Regions from separate parts of the Homo sapiens genome. Here region 2 is linked to region 1. The links are contacts of gene promoters, found by promoter capture Hi-C in human tissues and cell types (Jung and others, 2019). All regions are on one chromosome and are shown on one strand. The core of a region is centred on a gene start or on the middle of the fragment in contact, and the rest is flanking DNA. Distances in the headings are between cores, read along the strand shown.

What was found. Contacts are between HindIII fragments. The study calls those that stand out against the background at their distance.
Region 2: a contact is called between a fragment that was not itself captured here and the fragment with the promoter of XRRA1 in region 1, in 1 of the 25 tissues and cell types used here (dorsolateral prefrontal cortex).

What each region holds. Positions count from the first base shown.
Region 1 is chr11:74,944,982-74,952,121 of GRCh38, forward strand. XRRA1 (X-ray radiation resistance associated 1) reads right to left here and starts at 4,110. Exons shown (of 19, transcript NM_001378157.1): 1 at 3,947-4,110; 2 at 37-104. SPCS2 (signal peptidase complex subunit 2) reads left to right here and starts at 4,285. Exons shown (of 5, transcript NM_014752.3): 1 at 4,285-4,418. The coding sequence starts at 4,305. RefSeq lists enhancers at 3,478-4,332, 3,830-3,879, 4,000-4,059, 4,190-4,409, 4,333-5,187 and 1 more. The HindIII fragment of the contact is 13,977 bases long and covers 1-7,140 here.
Region 2 is chr11:75,333,775-75,340,914 of GRCh38, forward strand. All of the region lies in intron 1 of ARRB1 (arrestin beta 1), which reads right to left. MIR326 (microRNA 326) reads right to left here and starts at 1,412; the gene lies at 1,318-1,412. RefSeq lists enhancers at 916-1,450, 1,451-1,984, 6,747-7,140, 6,974-7,140. The HindIII fragment of the contact is 5,978 bases long and covers 1-5,755 here.

The DNA of each region.
Region 1 (7,140 bases), core at 2,860-5,359:
TATGGTGACCTGGCTTCAGGTCTCCAGAGTACTTACTTGATCTTTGACTTTGGGAATGGCCCCTTAACTTCCTTTTTTTTTTGTTTCTTCACTTGTTTCTTTGCCTGTAAGATAAATATTATATTCCTTCTTAGCCTGCTATTCAGAGCTCTTGAACTTCCTCATTAATTATATTCTACTGTGAGCCTTCCACTCCAATATTTGTCTTGCCTTTAGTCCTTGCCCGTAGGACTAAGGATCCAAGAAACAGATAGATACCAATACAGAGATGGAGACAAAGACAAGACATAGATGGGAAGGTGGTATAGGAGAATATAATTATGATAGTGGGGTATGGCTGGAGTGCTTAAATCAGACACACGAAGCACAAACCTGAAAGGACGGGATCGTTTACATGATTATTTACACAAAATAAATTTCTGCCAGATAAAAATAGGAAAGTCAAAGTTGAAAGATAAGACACAGTCTGGGAAAAGATATTTGCCATGCATATAATACAAAAGATGACTCACACTGAAGCCTGTAGGAGGCATGCAGACCTGGATGCTATCGCAGAAATTCTAGTTCCCTATTAGGAATATTAGGTGAGAAGGTGTAGATCTACAACTAATGGGCCAAGAAGGGCACATAACCCCTGGTTACATTATCTAAGACAAGTAAGATCTTTATATGGTAGAAAAAAAAGTCAAAGTTCCAGATTTGGAGGCTGACTTCCTGGTTAGCTTTAGTTACCTCTGGTCTCCATCTCAAACTTGATGCAGCTAATGCCAATCTGACTGTAGCGCTTCCTCCAAAACAAACATCTCTCTTTCTCTCTCTCTCACACACACACACACAGAGTAAGGCATATTTTTGCTTGTTCCATTCCTTTGGCCTATCACATTTCTGCCCCTCTTCCTTGCCCGGCTACATACAGATTAGCTTTCCTGTATCTCCCTCTCCTTAGGCTGAGCCTCCTCAAGCCCACTTCTTTTTTTATTTATTTTTTCTTTTTTTCTTGAGACAAGGTCTCACTCTGTTACCCAGGCTGGAGTGCAGTGGCATGATCTCAGCTCACTGCAACCTCCACCTCCCAGACTCAAGCAATCCTCCCACCTTAGCCTCCCAAGTAGCTGGACCACAGACGTGTGCTACCATGCCCAGCTAAATTTCTATATTTTTGATAGAGATGGGTTTTCACCATGTTGCCCAGGCTGCCTCAAACTCCCAACTCAGCCTCTCAAAGTGTTGGGATTACAGGCGTGAACCCCCTTGCCCAGCCATCAGGCCCACTTCTTAATGGAGGCACTAACATGGTTAGGCTTTGTGTCCCCACCCAAATCTCATCTTGAATTGTAATCCCCATAATCCCCATGTGTTGAGAGAGAGACCTAGTAGGAAGTGATTGGATCAAGGAGGTGGTCCCCCATGCTGTCCTCACCATAGTGAGTGAGCTCTCACGAGATCTGATGGTTTTATAACTGACAGTTCCTCCTTCACACTCTTGCCCTCTCTTGCCTGTTGCCATGTAAGACTTGCCTCTTCCCTTTCCGCCATGATTGTAAATTTCCTGAGGCCTCCCCAGCCATGCAGAACCGTGAGTCAATTAAACCTCTTTCCTTTATAAATTACCCAGTCTTGAGCAGTTCTTTATAGCAGTGTGAAAATGGACTAATACAGGCACTATACCACACTGTATTATAATGCCTGCTTCCTTGTTTGTTCCCCACCTCACTACAGGCTGTGAGTATCTCCAAGGTCAGGTCAGGCCTGGGTCCTACTTACCTCTTTTTCTTTTTTTTTTTTTTTGAGACGGAGTCTTGCTCTGTCACCCAGGCTGGAGTGCAGTGTCGCTATCTCAGCTCACTGCAAGCTCCGCCTCCCGGGCTCACGCCATTCTCCTGCCTCAGCCTCCCTAGAAGCTGGGACTACAGGCGCCCGCCACCATGCCTGGGTAATTTTTTGTATTTTTAGTAGAGACGGGGTTTCAACATGTTAGCCATGATGGTCTTGATCTCCTGACCTCGTGATCCGCCCGCCTCGGCCTCCCAAAGTGCTGGGATTACAGGCGTGAGCCTGTACTTATCTCTTTATCCTGCATCTCACACAGGACCTGGCCTACTGAAGGAAGAGTCTCAATGATTGTTAATTGAACTAACCCAACCCATGAACAAAATGCCACAGGAGCACTTCATGCAGTGGGTGAAGAAAGAAGAAGCAAGTATCAGAAATAGTTTCACAGGGTAGGTGACATTAAAGCTGGATCTTGAAAGATGAGAAGTTGGCCTGGTGTGGTGGTTCATGCCTGTAATCCCAGCACTTTGGGAGGCCGAAGCAGACGGATCACTTGAGGTCATGAGTTCAAGACTAGGCTGTCCAACACGGCGAAATCCTGTCTCTACTAAAAATATAAAAATTAGCCAGGTGTGGTGGCATGTGCCTGTAGTCCCAGCTACAAAGACTACAGCTTGGGAGGCTGAGGCACAAGAACTGCTTGAACCCAGGAGGCAGAGGTTGCAGTGAGCCAAGATCCCACCACTGCACTCCAGCCTGGGTGACAGAGTGAGACTCTGTCTCAAAAAATAAAAAATAAAATAAAAAGTGACTAGGGCAATGCTGTATCATCTCACTTTATTTTAAATAAAAGAAAAATGAGAAGTTGTAAAAGATAAACTGCAACAACAAGCTACAGGGGATCTGACTAGTGTCCACGGATTGCTTCACAGAGGTAATGAAATATCATCTGATGTTATTGCTATTTAGTGATATTTATTTTCTTTTTAGTAATAATTTAGTTATTTAGTGATAATTATTTTCTTTTCTTTCTGATCTCGGCTCACTGCAACCTCCGCCTCCCCGGTTCAAGCAATTCTCCTGCCTCAGCCTCCCAAGTAGCTGGGATTACAGGTGCCCGCTACCACGCCCGGCTCATTTTTGTATTTTTAGTAGAGACGGGGTTTCACCATGTTGGCCAGGCTGGTCTTTAACTCCTGACCTCAGGTGATCCGCCTGCCTTGGCGGGGATTACAACCATGAGCCCCCACGCCCGGCCGAGATAATTATTTTCACATGAATTTTGGCTTCCCCAAGACAAGTTTTTGTCTGTTTTATTCAGGGATATATCCCTGGTGACTAGAATAGTGCCTGTTACATAGTAAGAAACTCAAAAATATTTGTTTAATTCTTTAGACGCTTATGGGGGATATATAGGAATTAAAAAACAATACAACGTAATAGAGCATGGTATAATACAATACTGCTATTTGATAACTCTGTCATGGAGTAGTAGTTCCACCAGAGTAGCAACCAGGTCTATCTTGATCCCCTGTATCCGTTAGTACAATATTGGTGCTCAATATACATTTGTGAAAAAAATTAATTAAAATACAACGTAATAGAGCATGGTATAATACAATACTGCTATTTGATAACTCTGTCATGGAGTAGTAGTCCACCAGAGTAGCAACCAGGTCTATCTTGATCCCCTGTATCCGTTAGTACAATATTGGTGCTCAATATACATTTGTGAAAAAAATAATTAAAATCTAGAATACTATTACATCCTAAAACCGTAAAAGCAGAGTGTCAGAAGGGATATATATTGGTTTTGATTTTTTTTAAATGCCGGCTTGAAAACCGAGTTCAGATACATGCTATCTGGCTTTGGGTAGGTTCTTTAGTTTCCTCCTCATCTAACAGGGCTGTTGTGGGACTCAGTGAGAGAGAGGATGGCTGGAAGTGCACATAGGATACTGCCTGGCAGACTGTAGGCACTCAGTAAACGCGAGTTCTCCGTTAACACGAAAACATTACAAACAGCTAAAATGACAGCTGCTTGAGAGAATAATCGGTAAGTGCCACAACCGGGCTAGAAAAGGATGAAGGACAAGCTCCTGCCCACTCCTTTGGAAACTCCACACCTGGGCCGGAGAAAGACTCGAATTCGAAAACTAAGTTTCAGTCGCACCTGCCTCCGGCGTCGCTTCAGCCTCCGAGGGGTCTGCGGAGGCGACGTCCCAGTCAGGAGGGATGCGCGCCTGCGAGCCCCCCGGGGATCTCGGAGCCGCTCCACTGCGGTGCCTGCCGCTATCTTCCCCACGCCTTAGTAACTGCGACGCGACGGCAGACAGTGTAGGCGGCAACCGACGGCCGGGACGTCTAACCTCAAGTCCCAGCAAGCCCCGCGGCCACGTCCTCTGACTACCTCGCGCCAGCAAGACCCAAACTACGGATCCCGATTGACTCCGCGCGGCGCGTCACGCTGTCAGCTCCAGCCAATCGGCTTCAGACAAGTCGGAGGGGAGGGAGACGCAGAGGCGGACAAGATGGCGGCGGCAGCTGTACAGGGCGGGAGAAGCGGTGGTAGCGGAGGCTGTAGTGGGGCTGGTGGTGCTTCCAACTGCGGGACAGGAAGTGGCCGTAGCGGCTTGTTGGATAAGGTGAGGAGCCGGTTCTTGGGAACAGTTGAATCCTGGGGAGGCCTGGGAGGCGGCGAGCCAACCTTCCCATCCCGGTCTCCCTTATTTTCTACGGCCTTTTGAGGGGAGCCCTTGTGTGACCACTATCACAACCCTACGCACGCTTGGAGCCTGCCCTTGCCCTCATCACACTTCAAACCTGGACCCGGTCCTCTTTAGAACTTCTTCTTTTCTCGCAAGTGTTCTGGTCCTGGTCGCCACACCTTTTTCGGTAATTTGATTTTTCCTATATTTAATCGTGTCCATCTCTTTTCTCCTGGGGGGCTGGGTGCACTGTTGTCAGTGCCCATTTCACAGACACGGAAAACCGAAGCCCAAAGATTAAAGAATCAGTATCCCCCAAACTCTCTACCACCATCACCCTTGCGTGCTGCTACAGATTCCAAAGTGCTTCTTGTCCTTTTGCTTACTGAAGTTTTTAGGCGTTTTATCATGATAGGCGAATACTGAAAATATTTGAGTATTGACTGTTCTACTGGGCTGACAAGAAGCCTTTAAGATTTTTCTTTTTTTCCTGTTGTTTTTCCCCGCCCTCTCCTCTCTTCCCTCCACCTCCCTCTTTGCTACCAAGTGCACTGCTGCCCGCTCACGCTTGCCCCTTTCCTCCCTCTGCTCATCCAAAAAAATTTTTTTTAACTGCAGTCCTAGCAACAAGGGTTTAAAAGAAAAGAAAAAAAGGAAAACTGTCCCTGGGTTGGCCTTTCTTGCTCTTTGCACAGCATCTTGGAAGAAACAGTTGCACGGAGAACAACGTCCTGGTGTTGATTTTGCCTCTAATTAGCTTTGTGACCTTGAAATATGCTTGCTCTCTCTATATCTGTTTTCTCATCTGCAAAGTGAGAGATTTAGCCTTAAAATGAGGGACTTAACTCTAAATTCCCTTCCAGTTCTCTCATTGTAGGGCCCTGGGCTGGTTTGATGAGAATTGTTAAGCATGGTGTCTTTAATATAGTAAGCAGAATTTTTGAATATAATTGAAAACAGCTTTCAGACTTCCCTGTGCATAACACATGGTAGGTGCTTAAGAAATGAAAACATGATTATGTTGAGGGGTTAAGATCCAGGTCTTTTTACTTGTCTTTTTGAGTGTCATTGGTTTTGAAAGACATGGTTCTCACACTCTTCTCTTGTGAGAGGGGTCACGCTCCATTGCCCAGAATGGATCTTAGCTCACTGCGGCCTTGAACTCTTAAGCTTAGGTGATCTTCCCACCCCAGCTTCCTGAGTAGCTGGGACTGCAAATGTGCACCACTATGCCTGACTAATTTTTTTGCTTTTAACTTTTCTGTAGAGTCAGGGTCTTACTGTGTTGCCCTGGCTGGTCTCAAATTCCTGGGCCTCAAGAGATCCTCCCACCTTGGCTCCCCAAAGTGCTGGGATTACAGGCATAAGTCACCATGCACCTGGCCTCACACTCAAACCTTAAGATACAGAAACATATTCTGGAGGTTGGGATGGTAAATTGCTTCAAGACATGTGAGAGTATGGGGAATTGATGGTCATTTGTGTACACAAATCCTTCCCTCTTGCTAGGTAAGCACCTCATAGCCTGTGCTTACCTGCCCCACTAACTGCTCTTGCTCTTCCTTGCACTTGGATCATCATCAGCAAACATTAAGTATGGGCATTCTGCTAAGGCAGTATAGAATACTATTATTATGGAATAGTGTATATGGCACCATTGTGTTATTGAAAGAACCCGGATGTGGGGATCATAAGATTTCAGCTTTGAAGTATTTCTGCTACTTGCTAACAGTATGAAGATTGGCAAGTCACTTAACCTTTCTTCATTTGGAATTTTGGAATCTCTGGCACCTAGATCACAGGGTTTTGGGAAGAACCAAGTAAGACAGTACACATTAATGATCTCCATTACCTGTAGTGTCCAGTACAGATGTGTGATGGTGGAGGAGTAAATCAAGAATCCTACTGTCAGAGAGCACTCAGAATAGCCAAATATAGGAGATGGGGTAATTGAATCTATTTAAGGAAGTATATGGTATATTCGCTCAAGTGTGTACTTGTTACGGAAGTTCAAATGAGAGAAATAGAGTGAACCCTGCGAGCTTATTGATAAGAGTAAGAGCCTCGGCCGGGCGCAGTGGCTCACACCTGTAAACCCAGCACTTTGAGAGGCCAAGGCAGGCGGATCACCTGAGGTCGGAAGTTCAAGACCAGCCAGACCAAGATGGAGAAACCCCATCTCTACTAAAAATACAAAATTAGCGAAGTGTGGTGGTGCATGCCTGTAATCCCACCTACTCGGGAGGCTGAGGCAGGAGAATCGCTTGAACCCGGGAGGTGGAGGTTGCAGTGAGCCGAGATCACGCCATTGCAGTCCAGCCTGGGCAACAAGAGGGAAACTCTGTCTCAAAAAAAAAAAAAAAAAAAGAGTAAGAGCCTGAAGGAAAGGCCTCATTCCTGAAAGTGGAACTGGCACCTTATTTGGGGGGAGAAAAGAAAGACATGCCAGGTAAAAAAGTCTCCTTGAGTAAAGTTACACAGATGTGATGGTGTTTTATGTTTCTCAGGTATTGAGTTGACTAGAAGGCTCTCTAAAGGAACTGTAGTGACAAGTAGATAGCATCTGATTAGGGAGGCCGTGGATTGCTTGAAGTAGAGGAAAGCTGTTGAAGGGTTTTGAGACTGTGTAAAGTGGTTTTTAGGAAAACTATTCAGATGG
Region 2 (7,140 bases), core at 1,517-4,016, 390 kb after region 1:
GTTTGTTCTTCGAAGCCCTCCCCACAGCCACCTGTCTTAGGGAAGCACAGAAGGCAAGACATTGCTGCCAACAAACTCCGCTTCCCTGACTCTGCAGAGGGATGCACCGCACCCTGCCAGCCTGGCTTCCTTTCTGAGCAGGAAAGGTCAGCTCGGCCTGCCCTGGCAGCTCCCCTCAGGCACCAGACCAGCCAGACTCCTGACCCAGTCCCAGGAGCAGGAAAGGCCTGTCCAGACTTCTACTCTGCCCCACTCCCACAGAAGGTCCCATCCCAGGCCGGGCGCGGTGGCTCACGCTTGTAATCCCAGCACTTTGGGAGGCCCAGGTGGGCAGACCACAAGGTCAGAAGTTCAAGACCAGCCTGACCAACATGGTGAAACCTCATCTATACTAAAAATACAAAAATTAGCTGGGCGTGGTGGCATGTGCCTATTATCCCAGCTACTCAAGGCAGGAGAGTTGCTTGAACCCGGGCTGAGATAGCACCACTGCACTCCAGCCTGGGTGACAGGGCAAGACTCCGTCTCAAACAAAAAAAAAAAAAAAAAAAAGGCCCCATCCCGGTTACAACAGCCCCTTCCCAGGCAAGCCGTGCTCCACAGTTTATAACCACTTTCACCCTCTTGATTCGTCTGACCACCTCACCCCAGCAGCTTGTATCCCAGAGCCTAATACCAGGCCTGGCACACAGCAGGTTAATTTGACAGACAGCAGGACAGACTATCCCAATGAAAGGCATGGGCTCCCCTGAGCCATCTCCATCCAGCTTTCATCAGCATTTCCTGAGCTCCCAGGACAAGCCTGGGGCTAGACCAGGCAGTTTCACCTATGGTTCATTATTTTAACCTTTCCAGGAAGGTCTTATCTCCATTTTGCAGAAGAGGAAGATTGAAGTCAGAGAAGCCTTTCCAGTCTCTAATTTACATGGCAAGTGAAGCTGCAGGTTCAGCCTGCCCCAGAACTGGCTCCCCTGGATGCCTTTCAGGTGTTGCTTCTGTAGGGAGGGCTCTAACCTATGACAGATCTCTGCTGTGGGATGAGAGCCCCCTGAGGACATGCAGCAGATGTGGCACCAACATCCTAGCCCAAACGAAAACTTGCCACAGCAGGGCAGAGCTGGGCTTGGGCGCCTAAAGCTTACAGAGCTTGGAAGGTTTTTTTTTTGTTTGTTTGTTTGTTTTAAAAAAAAAAGAGTACAAAAATAATTTCCTTTTGCAAATTTCACAAAACCCCTGAGCACATGGACACATTGCTAGGCCTTGGAAAGGGCCCTGGAGCGTGAAGGGCTGGAAGCTGAAGCTGCATCAGCCTCATGGTGAATCCGCCTCGGGGCTGGAGGAAGGGCCCAGAGGCGATCTGAGCACCACCCGCCTTCACAAAGGCCCTGCCTCCAGCCCAACAGACAGATGAGGCTCCGGAAGACATTCCTTCTTCTTGATGGGAGTCCCGCTGCTACTTAACCCTCCCTGCAGTAGGTCCAAGTCTGTCTGTCTTTCTCTTGCCATGGTTTCAGAAGAAGCAGATCTTGGCCGGACGTGGTAGCTCACACCTGTAATCCCAGCACTTTGGGAGGCTGAGACGGGAGGATTGCTCGAGCCCAGGAGTTCAAGACCAGCCTGGGCAATGTAGCAAAACCACATCTGTACAAAAAATTTAAAAATTAGCCTGGGATGGTGGCGAACACCTGTGGTCCCAGCTACTCAGGAGGCTGAGGAGGAAAGATTGTGTGAGCCCAGGAAGTCAAGGCTATAGTGAGCTATGATCACACTACTGCACTCCAGGCTGGGCAACAGAGCCAGGCCCTGTCCCTGTCTCAAAAAAAAAAGAAGCAGAGCTCAGCTGAGTCTCGGACCTGCCTGCGGAGGTCTGCTGCTCACAAGGGCAGCACTGCCAGATTTCTTTGTGATCCTGGGGCACAACCCCAAGAGGAGCCTTCCATGCCTGGGCTGGAATCCTGGGCCTGGAATCCTGGGCTGGCAAGGGCTGCCCTATTAAGAACCCCATCCTCAAACATTTGTAGGGTATGATACAGTTTACCAAATGTTCCCACATCCCACATCCACATCCCGTTTGGCCCACACGACAGTCCTGGAGGTGAGCAGGGCAAGCTTTATTGTCCCCCTTTTATAGACGGGGACAAAACATGAGACTTGCTGTGCACCTATTGCATACTAAAGATGCCAAGGGGCTTTCCACACGTGACAACTCACAGATACCCTGTGAGAAACCAAGGCTCACTCAGTGTCTGGGGCTGGGCCTGAGAATGAGCCTGCAGCCCTGCTCTCCCATCTCGCAGCCCGTGCCTCTGCCCTGTCTCATCTCAGTCTGGCATGGACAGCTCAGAAGGCAGTGGGCAGGCACGCTGAGACTCAGTAGGTTGAGGAAGAAGAGGCCTCCAGCTACCAAGGCGGAAGAGTAGCTGAGGGCTCAATATATTTAATAGAAATCAAAAAAGTGAGAATCAACCGTGCCCTCTCTGGATGTGTCTGAGGAAGAGCACATGGCCCTTGGGAGCCTGAAACCTGTTTGAAAGCAGTCACCTTACAGACTCAGGGCCTGATGTCCTCCCCACACCCTGCCAAGCTGCAGATGGCCCCACCCCTACCTCCCACTGTCCACATGCTAGGCCTTCCAGACCCTTCTGCTGACTCCTCTCAGCGCCCAAGGCAGCCACCCAGTGCTTGCCCTGGCCTGTTCAAGTCCTACTCCTGTCCTTCACTAATGCTTGCTTAATTCGTGGATATACCTACTCTACGAATCTTTATGAGAAGATACTGTAGGGTGACCCACAGTCCTGATTTGCCCAGGAGTGAGCTGAGGGGTTTCCTGAGATGCGAGACTGAGACTGTCCCAGGAAAATTGGGATGGCTGACGACCCTCATGTACTGCATGCCTGGTCCCTGGGCTGGGTGCCAAGGACACATTTATCTACCAAACATAGTCACTGCCCTCAAGAAACTTCCAGTCGGAGAGTGGCTGCCACTCAATGAGAAACCACTGTCAAAGGCACCTGTTCAGCCCCTCACACACATGATCCATCACCACCCTATGAGGGGAATATTATCACCTCCGTGGTATGCATAAGAAAACTAGGGCTCAGAAAGGTGGCACAATGTGCCCAGAGTCAGAGTTACAAGTGACCTGCTAAGATTTGAACTTGATCCAATGAAACAGAAAAAGGGCAGTTTCCAGCATGAACATTATGGAGATAGAAAAAGATAGACATGTTTTATTTAATTCATTTTGTAGCTCCAGTGTCTGGCATGTTCTAGGTATTCAGGAAATGCGTGAAGGGAGAGAGGGAGATCTAAGCCTTATTTAATTATCTCCAGGCTAGGAGATTCCATCCCTCAATTCAAAAGCCATACATTTCCCTTTTCAAAGTCAGTTTCAGACCAGGCACAGTGGCTCACACCTATAATCCCAACACTATGGGAGGCTGAGGCAGAAGGATCTCTTGAGCCCAGGAGTTTGAGACCAGCCTGAGCAACACAGTGAGACCCCATCTCCACAAAAAATCTTCGAGGCTGCAGTGAGCTATGATCGTGCCACTGCACTCCAGTCTGGATGACACAGCAAGATCCTATCTCAAAGGAAAAACAGAAAAGGAAAAAAAAAGTTTTGACTGTTTTCCTTCAGCACGAGGACCAGGAAGGAAGTAAGAAGAGGGAAAGGGTGCTTTTTCTTTAAGTCAGCAGCTCGGGGCTCACTTCCTCCAGGGAATCTTCCCTGACTCACTCCCTAACCCAAGTCTGGCCCCACACTGTGCCAGGCCCCAGTCAGGAGCTGGGAGTCCAAGAGACAAGAGATACACATTTGCCCTCGAGCAGAGAGGGAACTGACTTGTTAGCAGTCAACTACAATGTAAAGTGCCATCCGGGAAGCCTGCACAGTGCTAAGGGAGCCTGGAAGAGGCCATTCACTCTACCTGGGCAGGGAGCAGTCAAGGGAGGGCTTCATGTCTACAGCAGGTGCCCTGTGCAGTTGTTCAATGAATTTCATTGAAATGTCTTTTTTTTTTTTTTTTTTTTTTTTTTTTTTTGAGACGGAGATTCACTCCTGTTGCCCAGGCTGGAGTGCAATGGTGCTCAAGTGATCCGCCTGCCTCGGCCTCCCAAAGTGCTGGGATTAAGGGTGTGAGCCACCGCACCCAGGCTAAAATGTTTTTAAGTTCAACCTGAAAATATAAGGAATATTTCACCAGAGGAAGAAGGGCATTCCAGCTAAAGAGATCGGCTTGAGCAAAGGCACAGAGGCGTGAAAAGTACAAAGACTGTTGAGGAAGATCCAAAAAAGTCAATGCAGCCAGGTTGTTAGCAGTGTGGTGGGGACAGCTGGGAAAGGAGTGTGGAAGGGACATTAGAGACAGATCCTGAAGGGCCTCCAGTGCCACCTAGAGAATGGGGACTTTCCCATAGGACATGGGGAGCAGTGGATCAGGCCTTAGGCTGGGAAGAATGACCAGATGTGAATTTCAGAATAACAGGATGGCTTGGAGGGTTGGGACTGAGCAGAAAGACAGCAACTAGAAGACAATTGTAATGATCCAGGCCAGGAGTGGGGCTTGACCTGAGCCAGTGGCGGTAGAATGAGGAGAACAGTACTTTGGGAGCCATGTCTCTATCACCATTCAGTTTGGATCCCCTGAACTGGGGCTGCCCACAGGAAGGCATGGTTTTCTCTTCTCCAGGGAGCTCAGCACACCCCCATCCAGGTCTACACTCAAATGGAAGTTGAGGCCAGAGCCTCAGTGTACAGAAACTCAGGTCTTTCTGTACACTGGGTCAGGGCTCAGTGTGGGGCCAGGTCATGGTTCTTTGAAAGTTCTCCCTACTACAAAGTTTACTCTGCAAATGGTGAACATCAGAGGTGGCTGAATTGTTTCAAGTATGCACAGTGAATCACTGCTGTACTGAATCGCTGCTGTGGAACAGTCAGCGCAGGGAGAAACGACAACGCATATTAATCACTTGATTATGATGTGTAATCATTTTTGTCATTTTTAGAATGTCAAAAAAATCTGTTGCAAAAAAAAATCTCCTTATTGAGTTTTAAAACGTCTGTAGGTTTCTCCCAGTACCCTGGGGCAATAGAGACCCATCATAACATCAACCAGTGATGAGCCCTGCTAATGTGCTGGGTGCTTTAATTAGCACAGCTGTAACCGAGAAAGGATGAACACATTATCTCCAGAGGCTGGAAAACTTGCCTACAGACATGCAATTACTGGTAAAGGGGAGGGGAGAACCCCAGCCTGCTGCCTCCTCTCCACCACTCCACGTGGCCTCAGTGTGCCCAAAGATAGCCCTCCAATCTGTAGAGACCAGCGCACATGGCCCCTGGCTGCCAGCCCCAAAGCCTGGAGCTGTTTCTCCTAAGACATAGTTTCTCAACTGTCTCATGCCCATGGGCTCCTCTGGGAAGAGCCATCAGATCTCTGCAGTGTCTCCTGGGCTAGAGGGAAGCTTTCCTCTCCATACCCTCAGGACAGTAGACCCTGGTTTCCAATGGCAGGTTTGCTGAGCCCAGTGTCTCCTGATATACCCACCCCATTTTCTTTCTCCAGGCAGAAACACTTACTGTGATGCCCTGTGGCAGAACTTTCACTTTTCACCCTAGTTTTTTTGTCCTCAAGCAGTCTGCATTCCCAAGACACTCCTTACTGACAGCAGATGAAACCAGTGCCTGACACTATGCCGGCACATAGTAGGTTTCTCAAGTCTGCTGAAGGAAGTCAGTCCTGGATGAAAACACATGTCACAGAGATACTGCCAGGAAGAGTACTACCTCTGGCTCACACAAACGCACTTTCCAACCAGGTCGTGAGTCCCTACTTCTGGGGAGCTGCCTCTGATCCTTAACCTCTGGCCCTGTTTTGTCCCTGCTATAAACAGATGCCCACTACCCCTCTTCTGGCAGCTGTTGAGATCATCTATTTCCTCTCTCCCAATACATCTGAGCAGCATGAGGGCAGAGACTTGTCTGGGTCCTCTTCATATTTCAGGTGCCCAGCACAGGGCCCGGGGTGTGGCACAGAGAGAAAGCTTTGTTCCTTGGAACCTCCTCAGGAGGGCAGCGATGGCCTAACAGAAACGATATAAGCTAACCCTGAAAACTCCTAGCCCGAGGCCCGGGGAGATAGTGTTCCATGTCATGAGGTTTCTTGCCACCCAGAACCTGGGAAGGCCAGGCCCTCAACTTCGGAGAAAGGGCAGCCTCAGGCGGGAGGCAGAGCAGAGCTGCTCCATAAATCCCCTTCCCACTCGGAGAGAGACACACCACTGGGACAGGCCCGGCCACTTCGGGACATGCCTTGAGTGGAGGGAGAAATGTTTGTGGAATTGAATGGAACAAACTGTAAAATGCTAGCTATTTGTTCCTCTGGCTGCAGAGGCCAGTTGCCCTCTGGGGGCAGTTTGCAGGCAAATTATCTCAGGACGAGGCCTGTTTCCTCTAATGAGGCTTCCCCGCTTTGCAGCTCTGCTCCCAAGAGAGTTGGAGGGGACAATGCTCAGAGCCAACCCCAGAGGCCTGCACTGAGGAAGCATACATGGCTCACCATTCTACACAGTGTGGGCGGCACTACCACTATCCAAGGCAGGGGGATGCTCCCCACGACCTTCTGGGTGCAGGAATTCTGAGCAATGCAGCACCTCCTCCAAGGCCCCTCTGGGGAAACAGGGAGGAAAGGAGCAGGGAGGCATGCTCAGTTATGTAACCAGCTGCCTTGGAGTCAGAGTCCCTGGCATATCTCAGCCCAGCACTACGAGGAGAGGCTGTGGGGGCTGGGGGTCTTTCTTCTCTTTTGCTGCCTCCTCCAGACCTGGCAGACCCTGTAGCAGGCGCTGCTTTCCAAGTGCCTGAGCTCCAAGCAGGCACCTCCTACTTGGGGTTGGGAACCAGGAAAGCTGTTGTTTTCTGAGTGTGTGAAACAGTGGCCTGCTGGCTCCCTTGGCAGAAAGCCAGGCTCGGGGCTCTGCACAGGGGTGAGGGTTAAGAAAGAGGAGCCTGGGGCCAGGATGCCAAGGGACTTCCCTCCACAACCGCCCCCAGCTTCCTGCTCCCCAATCTCTCCCCACTTCCTCCTAGAGAATCTGCCGTGGGTGAGGGGCCAGAGGGGAGTGGCGCCAGCAGCCCCA